7 separate regions of the Homo sapiens genome follow, and regions 1, 2, 4, 5, 6 and 7 are each linked to region 3. Evidence: promoter capture Hi-C in 16 types of primary human blood cells and fetal thymus (Javierre and others, 2016). All regions are on one chromosome and are shown on one strand. Each heading gives the region's core, a stretch centred on a gene start or on the middle of the fragment in contact. The rest is flanking DNA. Distances are from core to core; before and after follow the strand shown. Region 1 overlaps LOC107985486 (a long non-coding RNA gene). Region 2 holds the start of LOC107985486 (a long non-coding RNA gene). Region 3 holds the start of RWDD2B (RWD domain containing 2B). Region 4 has its middle 38 kb from the start of BACH1-IT2. Region 5 overlaps LOC105372770 (a long non-coding RNA gene). Region 6 holds the start of BACH1-IT2 (BACH1 intronic transcript 2). Region 7 holds the start of LOC124905071 (small nucleolar RNA U13).

Region 1 (2,700 bases), core at 93-2,592, 440 kb after region 3:
CTTTAATCTTGTATCTACATCTCTTTTCTCCTCTTCCTTCTCTTACATTCAGTAAATCTAAGGCTTCTTTGAGTTTCTGTGCCCTCTCTTACCTATTGGCAATGTCTGTAAAGACACAGCTCACCTCTTTCTTCTCTTCTGGGAAATATTATTAGCCATTATGCTTTCAGCCCACATTTGTTCACTTATTATTTCCCTGTGTAGACCCTACAAAATGGGAACCAGATCTTTTTCTATAGTTTTAGATAAAGGTAGTCTGGCAGTTTTCTAGAGAAATTCATTATTAGAAATTTATTCTAATGGGAACCCATTTTTGGCTTACTCTGTTGGTTGCTTTGACCTCTGTTTTTCCTTGCAGAGCTCGACTTATTAATATCATTTAGGAGCACTGGGAAACATCATTCTGCATATTTATCAGGCAATTCATACACACATCCCTACAGTTCAGTGTATAGAGCTTCTCTGTTTTGGACTTAAACTGAAAGATTTTAATGACTGGTCGTATTGGCCCAGCTCCTAATATGCAGATGAATCATTGTGTCTGCACTGCGGAGTGTTGGCCATCTTTTTACTTCTGCTTTTCTTAAGTAGATGCAAATATTGAGGGGATCCTAAAGAAGGACAGGAAGAGTACCAGCATTTTTTTTTTTCTAAATCTGCCACTAAAGTCCCTTTGGATTGGATTTTAGATAGTCATGGCATTTGAATAACCTGCATTTATTAATCTCTGGAAATAAGTGAAAAACTAGAAAAGGCTGAACGTACAATCAATATAATGCAATACTGGGGCCTAACAAAGTGGATAAATGATATTTATCAGCAGGCGACTGCTGTTTAATTCACAGGCACAAATGCCCACATTCATCTGTGACACTGAATCAGTTTTCTTGTGAGTGTTGTCTTCCCTGAGGTTTCTTTCTCTTACTCTTCTCTCCTTGCTCAAATTTCAGAGTTGTCATCCACAATTCTGGGAAAGGTGATGTTTCACTTGCTTCATTCAATAAAGATGGGGTTTAGGGGGGTGACACAAGGTATGGCTACCAATGTCTAATGCTGGTATTATATCCTTTATCCAGTATGCTGGGGAGAAAGTACAATCATTTTGCTTTACTTCATAGCTATCTGGTTCATTAAATCCCATGAGTCTTGGTAAATTATGAAGCAATTATTGATTTTGTTGTGGTCAACATCAAGATATATATTGATTTTCCCACCAGTCAATAGTTTCCAGAGGCATAATCAATATTGATGTTTGCTGAACATGTGTGTTAATGTCAGTGTGGGTATATGTACTTAGATCTCTACACTCAGATATTTATTTTATACTCTTTCTGAACGTTTTTGTAAAAAACTATTTTCTCCCAAAGATCCTATTATTTTTTGGCTGATTTATTCAGTTCTTCCTTTTTGCTTTACATTTTTAATCTCATTTATTCTTCCCCGGATTGATAATGGAAAGGAAAACTAAGGCTTTGGAAGAAGTCTATTTGCCTTTAATGAACCGGTTGGGGGTGAGTCTTCCTGATGAGATTGTGATTAATTGCAAAGTGAGTATTACTTCTTGTCTCCATCCTGTCGGTTCGATAGAATGACAAAAAAAGTTGAAGACTTTCACTCTCCATTCCAGCATCTACCAGACCAACATAACTCAGTAAGCACATCTGAGAATCCCCCTCATTTACTCCCAGTACTTTTTTCAATTATGTGGAACATAGACGAACAGGTCAAACTTGGATTTAGACAAAGTTAAATGATCAACTACATGATGCAATTTAATGGGCACAAAAATAAAAAAAAAAAAAACCTCTTACTGTCTTACATAATAGCCTAAAGTCTACCAGTAGGAATTTATTATAAATATCCTCTTAGAAAATTCAGATTGCTCCTGAGTAAATTAGAATATCAGGAAACTCACCCTTAGCCATCTATTGAACACATACTAGATATCTAGTTCTTTGCTATCATTTTGAGTTGGCACTTTACTTGGTTGACTCCGTGGTTCTTTAGTCTTTATCTGCACTCCACGTTTCTTTAAGCTAGCTGATGTTTCTCATATATTAATTGGCTTCTTCGACCAGTGAGGCAAATGAATTAGTACTCATTTCATCAGTGAGTTTTTTCTTTTCATCTAGAAAGATGCATTCCATCTAGGAAATGGGGGATTTGATGGCATGTGAGAAAGGTGAGAAGAAAGGAATAAATTTAAAGTACAGCAAATTGCCATCCTATACATGCATGTGTGCATGCCCTCTGGTATATATGTATCAGATGCTAGGTGGTAAGCAATAATTTGCCATGAAGCAGTTTGGTAGGGGTGAACTTCTCAGAGTAATTTCAAGCCAGTTATTGACTCCCAATAACAACTTAGCATTCTGATTCCCAGAGGATAATGTGGTCAAGAAAAGAGAAAGATAACGCATACATGACAAAATCAACCTCCCTCATTAAAACAATTTCCCTAATTGATCAGTGCTTCAGAGCATTCCATGTAGTGGCCGGGGAAAAAGTGCAGTACAGAAAAAAACTGGTTCTTGCAAAAGAGAGATAGCTTTGATGTGACAGAGACAGTGTGACAATAACCAAGTCCACTTTTCTGTAATACTGATCTGCCAATGCTTTGTATAGTGCTTAAGACCCATGTGGAGAAAATAGCAGTTCACATTCTGTTGATGCATATTTAAAGCTAAGAACTTAAAAATG
Region 2 (2,700 bases), core at 201-2,700, 410 kb after region 3:
TGATGGCCTTTGATGGGCATCCTAGAATGGATGAATAGTCATTGTTGTTATTTTTGCCTATCTGAGCATCATTCCCATTGCATTTATAACTTGGGGGTAGCTTAAAGGTCTATTTTCCAATATTGTAAAAAATAATATTAAAACCAATGCTCAAGAAAGTTATGTGAGTTTCCCAGTAGCAGACAATCTTGAGGGTTTTTAATATGTATCACTCAGAAGTATGAAAAATCAACAGAAATGAATAGCTCCTTGTGGGCTTCCAGGCATTGGGGCACATGTCTAGGGATTTTTAATAGCTCTGGGTCCTTTCTGTTACACTGTAAATCCATAAACATGCAACTACCTATCTGTGCCTCAATAAACTTGTTATTTTGGTCATTACAAAGAGGCATTACACTAATGCAGGAATAGAAAAATAGAATGCATGTAGTTCAACATATGGCATCTCTGAATTTTATCACTTTTTGAATTAACCAAGTGTTAAGCATTTAATTGATGCCCTAGGTCAATGGAATTCTACTGAACTGTATGATCTTGGATAAGTCACTTAATTTCTCTTCTGAGTGTTGGGTTAGTTATACAATTGACAGGTTAAATTAGATCATCTTTTAGCACTAAGGTTTTATGATCTTCCATCTATATCCCATAGATGATATGACATCTATGGGAAATACGATCTAAGTTAGATGGTTCATCATTGCTGGGGAAATACAAAACCAACAATGATTCTGACAGAATGATTAGCATCCCTGAAAGATCGATTATACCAAGACTTATTTATCCACAAGCGAGGGATTGTTTAGTTACTCTGGACAATTATGGTTGTTATCTTCAAGTGGTCTTATCACAGACAGAACTGCAGCTTTTGGTCTTTTCTAAGAGATTTAAATCATTTTAATGGGGCTTATAATTCCACATCAAATCATGACTAACAATAAGATAAAGTTCAGAGGCTTAAAAATTGCCGTAAGAGCAGAGAAATAATCTGTAGCAAATCCACAAGTTAATGAGATGCCTGATGTGGGAGTGTGCATTTTCTAAGAAAAACCATTCCTCTGAAAGATACTGATCCCAGACTTCAGAGAAATGATGAGGGCCTTGGAACTTTCCTGCAGGCTAATCTGCCAGAGAACCAGTTTGCCAATCCCTCGGATATTTGCTCCTGCTTGTTTCTTTTCCAATTGCAGTTGTTTACATTCCTCTGCCCGGCTACCTCCTCACATTCCTCTTATATATATATTTTTCTTAGCTTCCTCCTTCCCTGCTGTATTTGAGGCATGCCTAACAACTCTCTTTCATTGTTATTTATTTATATTGCTAAGAACTATGGGAAAACACATAGATTGACGAAAGTAACAGATCTCAGAGAATGAATCTCAAAATATACTCAAGTAATTGATATGGTTTGGCTGTGTCCCCATCCAAATCTCACCTTGAATTGTAGCTCCCATAATTCCCACGTGTTGTGGGAGGAACCTAATCAGAGTTAATTGAATCATAGGGGTGATTTCCCCCATGCTGTTCTTGAAGTAGTGAATAAGTCTCACGAGATCTGAATGTTTTATAAGGGGAAATCCCTTTCACTTGGTTTTCATTCTCTCTCGTCTGCCACCATGAAAGATGTGCGTTTCACGTTCCACTATGATTGTGAGGCCTCCCCAGCTGCATGGAACTGTGAGTCCCTTAAACCTCTTTTTCTTTATAAATTAACCAGTCTCGGGTATGTCTTTATCAGCAGTGTGGAAACAGACTAATACAGCGATTGTCTCTAGAATTCACTGAATTGTAAACAAGGCTACATATACATTCTGGTAGCGTCCTTTCTAGATTCCTTCCATGGCTGTTCCCTACTTCTTTTGTTAGTGTTTTCTTTTTTTTCCCTCTAGTTCTGTCTATGTTGGGCACTTGCTGGGGATGCTTAGAAGTCAGCCTAAGGTCCAGTAGGTCTGGTCCTGTTGTCCCTGGACTGTGCTGGTCTTGTCTTCCTGTTTTTTATTGTTCTAGCACCCCTTTACTAACCTTTAGGCTAATGTTTAAATTGACCTTAGTCTAAATGGCATGTTCAAAGGCGAAGTGGCCTTTATGATGTGATCATCCTTGGATTAATTTTTAGGTTATTATTTCCTCTCTCAGCCTTGATCCTTGGGGATGCCAATTTTATTTGCTGGTTCTGCTACCGGTGGAGGGTGTCCAGGTTCTCGGTGTCTTGAACATAAATTGGACAAAACGTACAAAGAAAGAAAGAATGAAGCAACTAAAGCAGAGATTTATTGAAATCAGAAACATACTCCACAAGGTAGGAGTGGGCCGAGCATACGGCTCAAGGGCCTGGTTACAGAATTTTCTGGAGTTTAAATTCTCTCTAGAGGTTTCCATTGGTTACTTAGTGTACCATCCTATGCAGATGAAGAGGCTAAAGTGAAGTTACAAAGTTATTTACTTGGTGTACACCCTATGCAAAGTGGATGTGTACACCCTATGCAAAGTGGATGTGTACACCCTATGCAAAGTGGATGTGTACACCCTATGCAAAGAAGAGGATGTTTCCTGTCATAGCTGAAGTAGAGTTACAAAGTTATTTACTTGGACTTAGAAGGCTGGGTTGGGGTTTTTCCATTTAATTTAGTTCTAGGAAGTCCTTAGGTTCCCTGCCTCCAGACCCTATTTCCTGCCTCAGTTCCTAGTTCCAATCCTTGGTTC
Region 3 (2,700 bases), core at 16-2,515:
AGATATAGACACCGCAATAACTAGGGAGAGATGATGGTGGCTTTGATAGGATTATAGTGGTCAAGTTGGTGAGCTTCAGGTTCTGGATACATGCAGAGAACAGAGGCAACAGGATTTACAGATGAATTACATGAGACACGGAAGAATGACTCCGGGGCTTTAAGGTACTGAAAGTATGGATCTGCCATTTATTTAGACGTTGATGGTCATGGGGAGCTGAAGCTTGGTTTTAGACACAAGTAATGAAGTGCCTACTAAGACACCTGTTAAATAGAGAGGTCTAGCAGGCAGTTAGATGTATAGTTTTGAAGTCTACGAGAGACTCAGCTAGATATATAATCTTGGGAGTCAACACTTATTTGGAACTATATATTTGTTTAAAGTCTCCCAGGGAGTGAGTAAAGTTGGGAGAGGGTGCTATTGAATTGGAGGTATCGAAGATGAAATGGGATTAGCAAAGAAGAACGGGACGGAGGGACTCTTGAACGGACAACTACGGGAGTGATGTCACAGGTCATTTATCTGCCAAATTATTTTCGCTTAAGAGATTTCAGTCCTTCCAAAAAACCCTCAAGATAATTTTATGATTCAAGATTTCAGCGAATGCTGTAAGATAATAGACTGTGGCCGGGCGCGATTGCTCACGCCTGTAATCCCAGCACTTTGGGAGGCAGAGGAAGGGGGACTGCTTGAGCCCAGGAGTTCAAGATCAGCCTGGGTAACATAGTAAGAGCTCGCCTTTATTATTTTTTTAAAAAATAAAATATATTTAAGAGAACGCAGACTGAAACTTGAGATTTCTGAGTGGAATAATATCTTTTCCTTGCAGATTTTTTTTTGAAGAACAGAGCAGGGTACCCCGCGACCCAAGCCAAGACGCTCTCAGGAAGAAAGCCCAGCACGCAGCCGCCCTCGCACCCTGATTGCCCCCGGGGCGAGGTCCCCGGCTGGAGCAGGGCTGCAGAAGCCGGGAAGCAACGCCGAGGACCGAGCCGACCGATGGGCGCATGCAGTGAGGGGAACCGGGGCCGCCATGCCGGGCACGTTCCCAAAGGGTTGCACTGGGCGCTGCAGCGTGGGAAACCCCCGTGGCGGTCACCACTGGCGCTAGCTGAGGCGAGACTCACCTTGAGCCGTGGCCCCCTCACTGCTGTAACCCGGGTTCCATGGCTGCATGGACAGCTCAATTTTCATCAGAAGGGAGCCTCAAAATTCTAGCATACTGCGACCCAAAACTTACAAACCGCCTCAGCTGGCGACCTACCGGAAAAAAAAAAAAAAAGCATGCGGCGCATGCGCGTCCAAGGCCGCGGACCGGAAGCTGGGGCTCGCCTGTTGGGAGCCGCGTCCGCCGGTGTTGGTGTCTGCACTTGGAAGGACGTAGGGAATGCGTTGTCCCTGCTAGGTACTTTTCAGTCGCAGAGTTCTCTTCTTCTTCTTTCTTTCTTCCTTTTTTTTTTTTTTGAGACGGAGTCTCGCTGTGTCTCTCAAGCTGGAGTGCAGTGGCGCGATCTCGGCTCACTGCAGCCTCCGCCTCCTGGGTTCAAGCGATTCTCCTGCCTCAGCCTCCCGAGTAGCTGGGATTACAGGCGCCCACCACCATGCCCAGATAATTTTTGTATTTTTCAGTAGAAATGGGGTTTCACCATGTTGGCCAGGCTGGTCTCGAACTCCTGACCTCAGGTGATCCACCGGCCTCGGCCTCCCACAGTGCTGGGATTACAGGCCTGAGCCACCGTGCCCGGCCGGAGTTTTTCTACTTAATACCTCTCCATGCCAACCCCGTTGTCATTTCCCAGCGGCCGCCTCTATAACGGGCACTTTTCAGGGACAAAGAATTGGTCCGTTAATGTTCCTCAAATTCGAACGCGCCTAGGAATAGTTCGGGGATCCTGTTGAAGTGCAGATCAGGATTCCGTAGGTAGGGGTGGGGTTCCAAATTCTACATTTCTAGTATCTTCCCACACGATGGTGATCCTCCTTGTCCCTGAATCATGGAGGAGGGCAATTAGGGAGATGTGAGCCTGGATGCATGGTGGCCTTGGCTATCTTAGGTGTTCTTGCCCATTAACCAAGCTGGGAGGAACCGTGTGAATGCATATCTATCCCTGTTAATAAAAGGGTAGTTTGAAGGAGATGCTGACAGGAGAATAATTAGAAATGTTTTTCTTCCCAATCCAACTATATGCAATACACTTTATAATATTCATTTTAGAAATGTCATAGATAAGATTTGTAAACATTGACATTTAGCAATACTAAATATCACTGCTAGGTCTCCCCTCCACTTTTTTTTTTTAAACAAAAATACGACAGTATGTATTGTAGGTCTTCATAAACTACGTCTTCTGCATAGTGTTTCATGAGCGTTTTTCAATGTCATAATTTATTTTTTCCTCCAACATTTATTATGAAAAAATTCAAGTGTAAAGCGAAGTCGAGAGAATTTTACAGTGGAGCAGACCTCAAGAGAAGGGGAAGGATGGATTTCCCCTCTATTTAGCAGTGTCTGAAGACATTTTGGGTTGTCACAACTGGAAGGATGGTATTGGCATGGGGTAGGTAGAGCACAGGGATGTTCCTCAACTTCCTACAATGAACAGGACATCCCCCGACAACAACAAATTTGCTGGTCCAAAATGTTGATAGTGTTGAGGTTGAAAAACACTGACCTGGAGAGTACAGAATTTTACTCTACCA
Region 4 (2,700 bases), core at 139-2,638, 390 kb after region 3:
CTCACACCTGCAATCCCAGCATTTTGGGAGACCAAGGTGGGCTGATCACTTGAGGTCAGGAGTTCAAGACCAGTGTGGCCAACATGGTGAAACTACATCTCTAGTAAAAATACAAAACTTAGCTGGGCATGGTGGTACATACTTGTAATCCCAGATACTCCAGAGGCTGAGGTAGGAGAATTGCTCAGACCCTGGGAGGCAGAGGTTGCAGTGAGCCGAGATAATGCCATTGCGCTCCAGCCTGGGTGACAGAGTGAGACTGTCTCAAAAAAAAAAAAAAAAAAAAAAAAAAGAGTGGGAATAGTAGTGAAGTATTACCTGGATATGCTAGGATTTCGATCAAGGGAAAAGGTTTCCCCCAGGGACAGTTCTCTATAAAGGTCTTGCTTAGGATGTGGTGTGGGTCGGGGGAGTTGGCCCTGGAGTCCTATTTACTGTGCATTAAAAAAATACATCAGGCACAATTCAAAGCCTTTGTCTGGTCATCAAAATCCTGTGATGCTGGAATGATGCATTTTATCACCTTGTTCTCAATCTTCTAACAGAATCCAAACACTTGACCAGCTATATGATGAATTTCTTCAGTAAACAATTTGCACCTTGCAGTCATCTGAAACAGAAGAATTTTTCTACATAATTATTTACTCCTTAAAATCATATTTATTTTCCTGAATCACTTGCATTTGCTTACTTAGCCAAGAAATGGTGAAAAAGTCCTAGTTAGATTCTAAAATGCAGTCTGTACAAATAGATATGTCGTTCTTGTTCATGCTGTATATTAATATGTAAAACAATGCCTTCCACATAATAGATGCCATTAACCACCAAAAGAAAAAAATGAATGAATGAATGTGTTCTTCATATTTATTCTCCTACAATTTCGGGATGCTGTTTTTTCTATTAATGTAACTCCAGCTAGTGGGAGATATGAAGAGCCTAGGAAATAGAAAAGAAGGAAACAGCTGGAACTCACAGGCAGGTCAGGGGACTCTAATCATCTTTCATTTTATACACACAAGATTAAAGAGTCCCTCTGAGTTTTGATTAAGGATGCACAGTTATAAGATTAAATACCAGTGAGCCAAATTAGAAAAGCTTTAACTCCAGTCTCAGGATTCATCAAAACTCTTCCTGCTACCCCCTCCCTCACATTAAGCCATCTTTACAACATGGGATTAGAGCAAACTATTTAAGACTTCATGTCCCCAGGCTCTTTGTCACCTTTGCTGTACAGCTGTCCTCATTCTGATCACAAACAATTCTCTCATCAAGAATCAAAGCTCATTTCCCCTTGAAATTTCTGTTTATATCCATGACTGAATTCATTCCAGCACCTCTACACGTATTTATTTATTTTGGCGACCTGCAGGGTCCTATATCAGGTACAACATGCACTCTTGTCTTATGCATTGTCATGAAACATATTAAAACTTAGTATGCTTGTCTGTTTTAGAAAAGACCTCTTTAATCATTCCAGTAATTATGCAAACACTCCCACAGGGCCAACAATAAACATGTCCTTCCCTTCCTGAGAAGCCTTCTGACTGTCTCCTTGGAAGCCACACCAAAGGGATTGGACAGAACGTGCAATTAATAACTCAAATGAGGAGAGGTTAATATGGTCATCAGGCATCTGAGAAATAAAAGTGTCATTGCTTTATTAAAAGCTGTAATTCAGGTACAAGCTTACATAGTAATGATAAGACAATTTTAAAGAAATAAATGAAAGGACCAGAAGAAAAAAAAATGTTGATCTTAACTCTAGATGAGATTTTAGATTCTGCAAACATATTTTCTTGGTTGATAAAGAATGAGATCCATTGACCTTTAAATGTATTATTTGTTGCAAGAAAATGTAGAAGTCCAAGGAAACTCTACAGGGACTTTGCTACTTGAGGTTTGATAACCTGTCCATGAGTTTCCTAAGTACAGTGAATTTTCGAGGGTCCGTTTTCATGTGGCCTCAGGAGATCAAATTTAATCATTTAGGTTTTCCTTTCTCCTACTTGGGAGGGGTGTAGGGGCTTGAGAAGCTCAGGGCTATTTAAAAAGACCTACATGGGCCAGACGTGGTGGCTCATGCCTGTAGTCTCAGCACTTTGGGAGGATGAGTGGGGAGAATCACTTGAGCCCAGGAGTTTGAGACCAATCTAGGCAATATAGGGAGACCACTGTCTGTATGTGTGTATATATATATATATATATATATATATATATATATATATATATATATAAATTAGTCATATGTGGTGTCACACACCTGTCATCCAAGCTACTCAGGAGGCTGAGGCTGGAGGATCTCTTGAGCCCAGGAATTTGAGGCTTCATTGAACCTTGATCAAGCCACTGCCCCAGCCTGGGCAACAGAACAAGACCCTGTCTCAATAAAGTAAAATAAAATGGCCTATACTATCTTTTTGTTGTTGTTGTTGCCTCACTTAGTATCAAAGAAGATTAAGAGAAATGTAAAGAGCTAGACTTTGAGCTCCTATGTAATAAGGTCCAGGTATATGAAAGAGAATAATGATGAGGCCCTGATGTACATCCCATAACGTGAGAAATGACAGTTAGAAGAACAGGGGGACTCTGTTTAGTGGTAACATGAACTCTTTAAGGAACTCTTTAAGGAAGCTGGGACAAGGGAGAGCCTTCAATTTCTCATACACAGAAGCCAATATGGGCTGTTTATGGTTGAATGAG
Region 5 (2,700 bases), core at 137-2,636, 480 kb after region 3:
AAACTTACAGTTATAACAGTACTTTATTTATTTATTTATTTAGACAGAGCCTCACTCTGTTGCCCTCGCTCTTGTTTCAGGGATTGGTAATCACCATCCTCCCACTTGTCAATCATCTGGGTTGTCACCCTTGACCATTCCCTCTCTTTCTCTTGCAGCCAAACACCACTGTTGTTGGCTTTGCCTTCTAGACAGCTCTGCCATACATCCACTTGTTTTTGTTCCCACTGCCACAATCTTACTCCATGCTACCACTGCTTCTCTCCCAGATGACTTGCAATGGCCTAATAATTAGACTCCTAATAATTAGACTCCTGGCTGGAGTGCAGTGGCACAATCTTGGCTCACTGCAACCTCTGCCTTCTGGGTTCAAGAAATTCTTCCTGCCTCAGCCTCCCGTGTAGCTGGAATTACAGGCTACCACCACCACGCCCAGCTAATTTCTGTATTTTTAGTAAAGACAGGGTTTCTCCATGTTGGCCAGGCTGGTCTCGAACTCCTGACCTCAGGTGATCCGTCCGCCTCGGCCTCCCAGAGTGCTGGGATTACAGGCCTGAGCCACTGTGCCCGGGCTGCTTCCCAATTTTCAAGACTCATCTGATGTCCCTCACTTCATCTTGTACTTTGCCAGATTACTCTGGGAGTTCACACTGAGCTTCCTTTTGGTGATATTTTAAGGCACTTAAAATTCACCAAATTCTTCATCTAACTGATATATTTTGAGAACTAATTGTTCCTGTGCTAGTCTTACTTCTTCAAATAGATTCTAAGTTCCCTAAAGTATGGAAATCTGGTTTATCATATTTCCATATGCCCTCAGTATCTGACACATGTTGAGTTCAGAGTAGGTGCACAAGAATTGAGGGGAGAAGTCTGGAAGGGATGGACATTTAGGAAGATGGAGGATCTGTAAAACCCTCTTGTCCATTTTTCACCAGTTGTCCTTGTTTTCACCAGTTTTTATTTCATCAAATATCCCCCCTAGATTTAAAACTCTCTGTTTAGCTCTTTTAAATCCAATAAAACACTAAACAGAGGATAAATTTAGCTCCTGGTAGAGGGTCTGCAAATGCAGATGTAGAGCATGTGGGAAGATTTCCAGGAGCTTTAGCAGAAAGTACCATATATTGGGCATTAGCTTTGGAGGCTGATTATAAAAGTCATTTTCTGTTTGTGATTTTGTAATCTTACTCTCAGGTGAGCTGTGGTCATTGCTGACAGGCAGGTCCATGCACAACAACCGTATCATGGTGCCTTTTTTCATCAATCATGAATATTTTTGTGGGGGGGGGCTTTTTTTTTAAAGAAATCAATTGAAAGAAAAGGTAAAATAGGATGATCTGTGCTAGTTTGAGAAACAGATTAAAGAATACTAGAATACTTTCAAAAATTTATTCAAAGAGATTCTAAGAAGAAGACAAAAAGGTTTCTCTTTTCTTGTTGTAAAGATTCTAAACTCCTTTGGGAGGCTGAGGCGGGTGGATTACCTGAGGTCAGGAGTTTGAGACCAGCCTGACCAACATGGTGAAACCCCGTCTCTACTAAAATACAAAAAAATTAGGTGGGCATGGTGGTGGGTGCCTGTAATCTCAGCTACTTGGGAGGCTGAGGCAGGAGAATCACTTGAACCCAGGAGGCGGAGGTTGCAATGAGCTGTGATCGCGCCATTGCACCCCAGCCTGGGCAACAAGAGAGAAGCTCTGTCTCAAAAAACCAAACCAAACCAAACAAACAAACAAACAAAAATATTCTAAACTCACCAAGGCATTATCTTGAGGGCTGCTCTCATAAGACAGAAGGATGCCCCTGGACACCTGTGAAGTGTATGGGTGTGTGTGTGTGTGAATGTGTTTGTGTTGAAAGTGTTTTGGGGGAACAGGGCCTAGAATGGGGAAGCCTGGGAATAGTAGAATCCAACTACCATGGCCGTTTGTTATTTCACTGTTGAGAAACCTTCTACCTGTAATAAGATGGTTATTAAAATTTTAATCAGAACTTTTCTGTGCACCTGAGGGCCAGGTCACCGAGTTTGCAGCTCAAGTATGTAATTCCCATATAAAGGACTTTAATTAAAAATAATAATGATAGTGTTATTTTCAATTTCTGAAATCTTGATCGTGTTTTCATTTGTCTGATCTCATTTTGATTTTCATTCTCTTAACAAGCCCATGAAGCAAGTAGGCAAGAATTACTACCTTCAGGAACCGCAATCCATTCTATTTGTGAAAATTTTCCCTTGGTGATCCATTTCATAGTGTATCACAAATTCCATCTCCTCTTTTCTATACCTGTCTAGAAATATCAATACATGTAAACTACACATCTTTTAAATAACACTGTGTTATATGTGAAAGCGTAATTAACATAAAAGAATATATTTTACATACATCAAGCATAGCTAGAGGTCTCTCTTGGCAGACTGAGAGGCAAATGATGTGCTCTGGGGTTGCCTGTCATTCATCTGTGAAACCCAAAGGGCCTTCTTGAGATCTGACCCAAGGTGATGTTTTGTCCCTGTCCACATAAAAAGATGCTAAAATTGCTGTTGCTAAAGACGAAAAGAGTAATCTCACATAGGGCACCTAATTATATCAATATGATGACTGTGGACTGTATATGGACACTGAGAATTCCTAGGGAGCCCACATATACAAACCCACTCATCACCACCCAGGAGACGTCAGGGTGTGGTCTGCTTTA
Region 6 (2,704 bases), core at 132-2,631, 350 kb after region 3:
CAGCCTGCAGCTTCACTCGGTGGGCAGCCTCCACAGGTACTTTAATTCCTCGCTCTTCTGGCCAGGCATCTCTTGGTAAAGGCAGGTAGAGGAAGCAAAGCAATTACCTAGATAATTAAGGAAAAACAAACCTGTATGTGGCAGGTAACTTGGGGAGCTGCTTCTGATTTTCTAGGCAACTATTTTCATTCTTCACTTCTCTGGTGTCAGCAGGAATCTGAGCTAGATCCCAAGAGCAACTCGAACAATTACAATGCTCTCAGTTGGCAAACCCGGCTTCATAGCAACTTCCCTCCTCATTGATCTAGAGTTTGAAATAGCTTTGTCAGATCTCGGGTGTGTTCCTGCTGATTTATGGCAAAATCCCAGTAACAGCTGTGAAAATGTTTGTCCATTTGTGAAACTTCAGAAAGCGGGTCTAGCAAATCATTCTCACCTGGTGATTCTGGGGCAAGGTGAGAACTGTACCCTCACAGGCCGGGTGAATAAGATTCTAGTTGCGGTGGAGGCCAAGGAAGAAGATGTACTATGAGTCAATCTCTCTATGAGGCATTTGCTGAACCTTCCCCTCCTACACCTTCCTACAAGGCAGGTCCGATGACTTTTACTTTACAGATGAGAAGATGGAGCCTCCACAAGGCACATAGCTGGTGAGTGACAAAACCAGAATTCAAACCCAGATCCATTTGATAGTGACATTTGTTTCCACTACCCTAGTGGCTCTGGGGGAAGCCAGGACACCCATATTTTTGTAAAGTCCCGTAGTTGTTTCTAGTGTCATCCGGGTTGGAAACTGTATATTAAGTCAGTGGTTCTCAAACTTTAGCATGCATTAGTATCCCCTGTTAGGCTTGTAAAAACACAGATTGCAGGCCCCACACTTAGATTTCTGACTTGGTAGGTAGGTCTGAGTTGGGAACCAGGAACTTGCCTTTCTAACAAGTTCCCAAGTGATGTTGATGCGGGGGCCTGGGCACTACACTATGGGAACCACCACCGCATTAAGGTGAACTCAGAGCTGAATCTGACATGAAAATCTGCATTAATGGAGATGACATCAGATATCTGCAAAGTCACTTAATAGAGAACGGTTGAGACTAAGTCTTGACTAATATTAAAACTAACACATCTAAAAAGACTATGTCCATCACAGGTGGGTGGTCAGAATAGAAACATTACATAATGGGAAAGAAAATGTAGCTGATGCTATTCATCTAGAAGGAAGAAGTGATGTAAGGGTCAGTTTCCACCTTTGCTTTGAATTCCTTGGACAGCAAGCAACCATATGAGCATTAATTTGATTTATGTTTTTCAGGTATCGTATCTGATTTCAGATACATATGATGGTCTCAAGTGTGTTTTTTACCACCACCACTTTGTAGGCCTGTTGATGCCACTGCTGTTGAAGTCTATGTGAATGGTGCCCCCTGGTGGAAGGAAAAAGGTAGTTTATTACAGTCCGTTGTAAATGAGTGACCTAGCGTTGTTATCATGCTCTGCTCCTAGAGACCACTCCACTCACCTTAAACTAGCGAGCCTGAGGACCGGTCCCGGGGACCCATGAGAACATGATCTCCGAGAGCCCTGCCCTTGAGAAAGGTTCTCCTCAGCAATACTCCAACTCACCCCAGACCTAAAATTTTTTTTTTTTTTTTTGGAGACAGAGTCTTGCTCTGTCGCCAGGCTGGAGTGCAGTGGCATGATCTTGGCTCACTGCAACCTTTGCCTCCTGGGTTCAAGCAATTCCCTTGTCTCAGCCTCCCGAGTAGCTGGGACTACAAGCGCACACCACCTCGCCTGGCTCATTTTTTGTATTTTAGTAGAGACGGGGGTTTCACCATGTTGGCCAGGATGGTTTCGATCTCCTGACCTTGTGATCTGCCAGCCTTAGCCTCCCAAAGTGCTGGGATTACAGGCGTGAGCCACCATGCACGGCCCTAAAATTCTTAAAACGTGAAAATGGGGGAAGATGGTTAACACATCCATATGCTATCATGATATATATCTTTCTTCTTAGTTGTATGGGATGAAATGATGCCAAGATTTTCCTTACAGAGTAGGGATTGTGACTGAAGCCTTTGGACAGGTATTTAGGCCCTTATGAGTGTCCCCTCTTGTCTAGAGAATGGGACGCCAGGAATGTCAGATGCTTTTCAGCCTCTCCCCTGCTCTCACGCCTAGAAACAAGAGCTCCACAAAGGTCTCTCATTCCTCAAGGCTGATGAAAAGCCCAGCAGCTAAATGGCCAGAAGCCTGTCTTTGTGAGAAAGCAAGAAGTCTCTCGGTTTGAACTCTTCGGTCTAGAGACAGATTCTTCTACCAGTGGTGTAAAACCCTAAAGAGGCTCTGCATAAGACCTACCACTGCTCTGTGTCTCATGACACCCTGCCCCCACCACTGGAAGGCCACACTTATTCTTTGTGTTCATGCTTCTCTATGATCTGCAAGTTTCCCAAGAACACCTGGATTCGAAGCTCAAGTCCACCGCTAAATAGCTATGTGACCTAATGTGTCAGATGGTTATAAGGATTACAGAGAAAGAGGTATAGATAGAGCTGGTAGCAGTGACAGACACATCTTTACATCATATAATTCTGACATGCATTATTATTGTAGTTTTCTGTTATTCAGACATACTTGTTAAGAAGGTGCTGGGGACAATTTGTACATGCTGGGTATGAAAGGGCTTGGAAAGTATTTCATG
Region 7 (2,700 bases), core at 34-2,533, 370 kb after region 3:
TGAATGGTCGTTATTAATTTTCCATGCTCTTTTGTGGAATGTTTGGCATATGACTGAGTTACAAATAATGGATGAAGGCTGAAGTCATAGGTATAACTTCCAGAAAGTATACTTGGAGGGTAGGTATTATGCATCTTTCTCCTTTTTCCTTTCTGCAGGGTAAATTCCAGACATCATATTTTTAGCTGGAGAATCCATATTGGCAAAGGACCACACACACTAGTATAGCAATGCAGGAAGCTCAGCATATCTGGGGTCCCCAGTGACTGTGGAACTTCTATGTCCGCCCAGACTGCCTGCTTCTGACTTTCCCCCACTTTTTTATGTCAGATATTTAATGTGCTAATGATGTAACAAGGTTTGAGGGAGGCACGTCTCACTCATGAGCATGCAAACCCAATCATCACACTTACGAACCACAAAATGGTCTAATTCTGGATTTTTTAAAATAAGAAATCAAAACCACATGTTTTAAAGCCACTATTAATTTAGTTTATCTTAGCTATTTCAATATCATGTTATTTAATAGTTTGTATTTTTACTCTACTTCGCAGTTTTTATTGTCTTATATTTTCTGATTTTGAGCCATATTTTGTTTGTTTCAGTTTCTCATGATGTGGAAGTTACATATCCTCCTCAGAGTCTTCTAGTAATTGACTTTAAATTTTAAAGATACATTCTTTAACACATTTTTCTTTAGTTATCAAGGAATTTGATCATTTGTCCTCATTTGAAATAGCATGATAAATTTATTGCACTTTTATATTTGTCTTCTACCATGCTAGACTTTGCTAATACAACCCATGTAATTACTCTTACATTATTTATAAGAATTTCATGTATTTTTTCTTTTTAAGTTTACTTTGTATCATTTGTATTTGTGTTTGTATTAATGCTTATTTAGATTAAATTCACCACAGTAATAATTTCAGTTCTTGATACTATTTATTTTCTAATACAATGCTCTCAGGCTTGTGATCTTAATTTTTCTTTCCATCTCTCTTTTTTTTTTAATTTGAGACAGGGTTTTACTCTGTTACTCAGGCTGGAGTGCAGTGGCGCAGTCTGGGCTCACTGCAACCTCCACCTCCCGGTTCAAGCAATTCTCAGGCTTCAGCCTTTGGAATAGCTGGGATTACAGGCGTGCACCACCACGCCAAGCTAATTTTTGTATTTTTAGTAGAGGGGATTTCACCATGTTGGCCAGACTGGTCTCAAATTCCTGCCCTTAAATGATCTGCCTGCCTCGGTCTCCCAAAGTGTTGGGATTACAGGCATGACCTACGGCACCTGGCCTCTTTCTTTCTTTTCTTAAAGACATTTTTAGGATTTTTTTTTTCCCAAGAAAGGTATTATTATAAGCCCGTATATAAGATCTTAGGTGTTTAAAAATATTTTTCCTGTTGTCTGAATTGAAAATTCTTACGTTCCACATTGTTTTCCTTAAAACTCTGTAAACATTTCCTGTGTGTGTATGTTTGAAACTTAATGCTATATGGAAGTATAAGATCATCTTGACTTCGTTTTTTCTTAGTGACCAGGTTTTTTCCAAGTGAATGTTTACAAGATGTCTTTCTGTTTTGTAGTTATAAAATAGTTTCAGAATGCTTTATGTGTAATTTATATATTCATCTATTTATTTTGTGGATCATGGGGAGTGAGTCTTTTTGCTTGCACAGTTAAGGCTTTTTCAGCTCAAATACATTTTCTTTGTTGATGATTTTGGTTATTGCTTTGCTTGTAATTATCTTGGTATTCTCCTAAGAAAGACACTAAATTATTTAGTTGGCTTTCCAAACTCTCCTTCAAGATCATCATCTTGCTCGTCACTTGTATCTTTGTTTTTCCCTTTTCTTTTAAAAGGTTCTGAAATTTGCCCTTCACCAGATGCCTTTGATTTGTCATGGTGACATCTGCTTTTCATGTGCTCTTTTTCCCTGCTATTATTCTTTCAGTCTCTCTCCTCTGCCCTTCCTGCGCACATCATCTGCCTCCTTTTAGTAAGTAGTGTGTTATTATTATGATTTTAAAATCTCAGCTTGAGATTTAATTTAATTTCATCTTTTCATCTCTTCTTGAGTTCATGTCAACCTATTCACTTTTTGTGACTCCTTGAAGAAGCCAGGCTGTCTTGTGGCCCGTTGAAAGCACCTAGTTTCCTACAGCTTAATTCTGGTTCTTTCAGTAGATAATTTTCAGAGATTGGTTCTGTCTCTGAGTCTATAGTTGTTGTTCCCTTTTTCCTTAGTCTCATATTGTTTGCAAGGCCCCATGCTCTCTTTTAAATATTTTAATTTAATTTTATTTTAAGTTCCAGGATACGCGTGCAGAACATTCAGGTTTGTTACATAGGTATACATGTGCTATGGTGGTTTGCTGCACCTATCAACCCGTCATCTAGATACTAAGCCCCTCACGCCTTAGCTATTTATCTTGATGCTCTCCCTCCCCCTCCCCCACTCCCCAAACAGGCCCCAATGTGTGTTGTTCCCCTCCTTGTGCCCATGTGTTCTCATTGTTCAGCTCCCACTTATAAGTGAGAACATGGAGTGTTTGGTTTTCTGTTCCTGTGTTAGTTTGCTGAGGATAATGGCTTCTAGCTCTATTCATGTCCCTGCAAAGGACATGATCTCTTTTCTTTTTATGGTTGCATAGTATTCCATGGTGTATATGTACCACATTTTCTTTATCCAGTCTATC

Evidence for each region. Contacts are between HindIII fragments. The CHiCAGO score rates a contact against its expected background, and 5 or more counts as called.
Region 1: a fragment that was not itself captured here is called in contact with the fragment with the promoter of RWDD2B in region 3 in 6 of 17 cell types (naive CD4 T cells, non-activated CD4 T cells, total CD8 T cells and 3 more); the score reaches 9.2 in naive CD4 T cells.
Region 2: a contact is called between a fragment that was not itself captured here and the fragment with the promoter of RWDD2B in region 3, in 3 of 17 cell types (naive CD4 T cells, activated CD4 T cells and non-activated CD4 T cells). The highest score is 7.0, in naive CD4 T cells.
Region 4: a contact is called between a fragment that was not itself captured here and the fragment with the promoter of RWDD2B in region 3, in 3 of 17 cell types (neutrophils, naive B cells and M0 macrophages). The highest score is 14.9, in neutrophils.
Region 5: a contact is called between a fragment that was not itself captured here and the fragment with the promoter of RWDD2B in region 3, in 1 of 17 cell types (neutrophils). The highest score is 5.6, in neutrophils.
Region 6: the fragment with the promoter of BACH1-IT2 here is called in contact with the fragment with the promoter of RWDD2B in region 3 in 12 of 17 cell types (neutrophils, naive B cells, total B cells and 9 more); the score reaches 21.1 in neutrophils.
Region 7: a fragment that was not itself captured here is called in contact with the fragment with the promoter of RWDD2B in region 3 in 1 of 17 cell types (neutrophils); the score reaches 7.9 in neutrophils.

The regions. Positions count from the first base shown.
Region 1 is chr21:29,453,174-29,455,873 of GRCh38, forward strand. All of the region lies in intron 1 of LOC107985486 (a long non-coding RNA gene), which reads left to right. Among named protein-coding and RNA genes, the nearest start is that of BACH1-IT3, 42 kb to the right of the region's middle. The HindIII fragment of the contact is 2,995 bases long and covers 1-2,700 here.
Region 2 is chr21:29,432,696-29,435,395 of GRCh38, forward strand. It overlaps LOC107985486 (a long non-coding RNA gene), which reads left to right and starts at 1,594. Exons shown (of 2, transcript XR_001754998.2): 1 at 1,594-1,674. The HindIII fragment of the contact is 6,796 bases long and covers 1-2,700 here.
Region 3 is chr21:29,018,084-29,020,783 of GRCh38, forward strand. It overlaps RWDD2B (RWD domain containing 2B), which reads right to left and starts at 1,266. Exons shown (of 5, transcript NM_016940.3): 1 at 1,128-1,266. The coding sequence starts at 1,194. LOC124905005 (a long non-coding RNA gene) reads left to right here. Exons shown (of 2, transcript XR_007067836.1): 1 at 1-164; 2 at 830-2,700. RefSeq lists an enhancer at 1,107-1,356. The HindIII fragment of the contact is 4,408 bases long and covers 221-2,700 here.
Region 4 is chr21:29,408,755-29,411,454 of GRCh38, forward strand. No RefSeq gene overlaps it. Among named protein-coding and RNA genes, the nearest start is that of BACH1-IT2, 38 kb to the left of the region's middle. The HindIII fragment of the contact is 590 bases long and covers 1,094-1,683 here.
Region 5 is chr21:29,492,979-29,495,678 of GRCh38, forward strand. LOC105372770 (a long non-coding RNA gene) reads right to left here. Exons shown (of 4, transcript XR_007067840.1): 2 at 2,388-2,514; 3 at 2,196-2,292. Among named protein-coding and RNA genes, the nearest start is that of BACH1-IT3, 1.7 kb to the right of the region's middle. The HindIII fragment of the contact is 5,698 bases long and covers 1-2,700 here.
Region 6 is chr21:29,371,120-29,373,823 of GRCh38, forward strand. BACH1-IT2 (BACH1 intronic transcript 2) reads left to right here and starts at 1,382. Exons shown (of 2, transcript NR_046564.2): 1 at 1,382-1,444; 2 at 2,123-2,704. The HindIII fragment of the contact is 7,280 bases long and covers 1-2,704 here.
Region 7 is chr21:29,389,063-29,391,762 of GRCh38, forward strand. LOC124905071 (small nucleolar RNA U13) reads right to left here and starts at 428; the gene lies at 325-428. The HindIII fragment of the contact is 7,052 bases long and covers 1-2,700 here.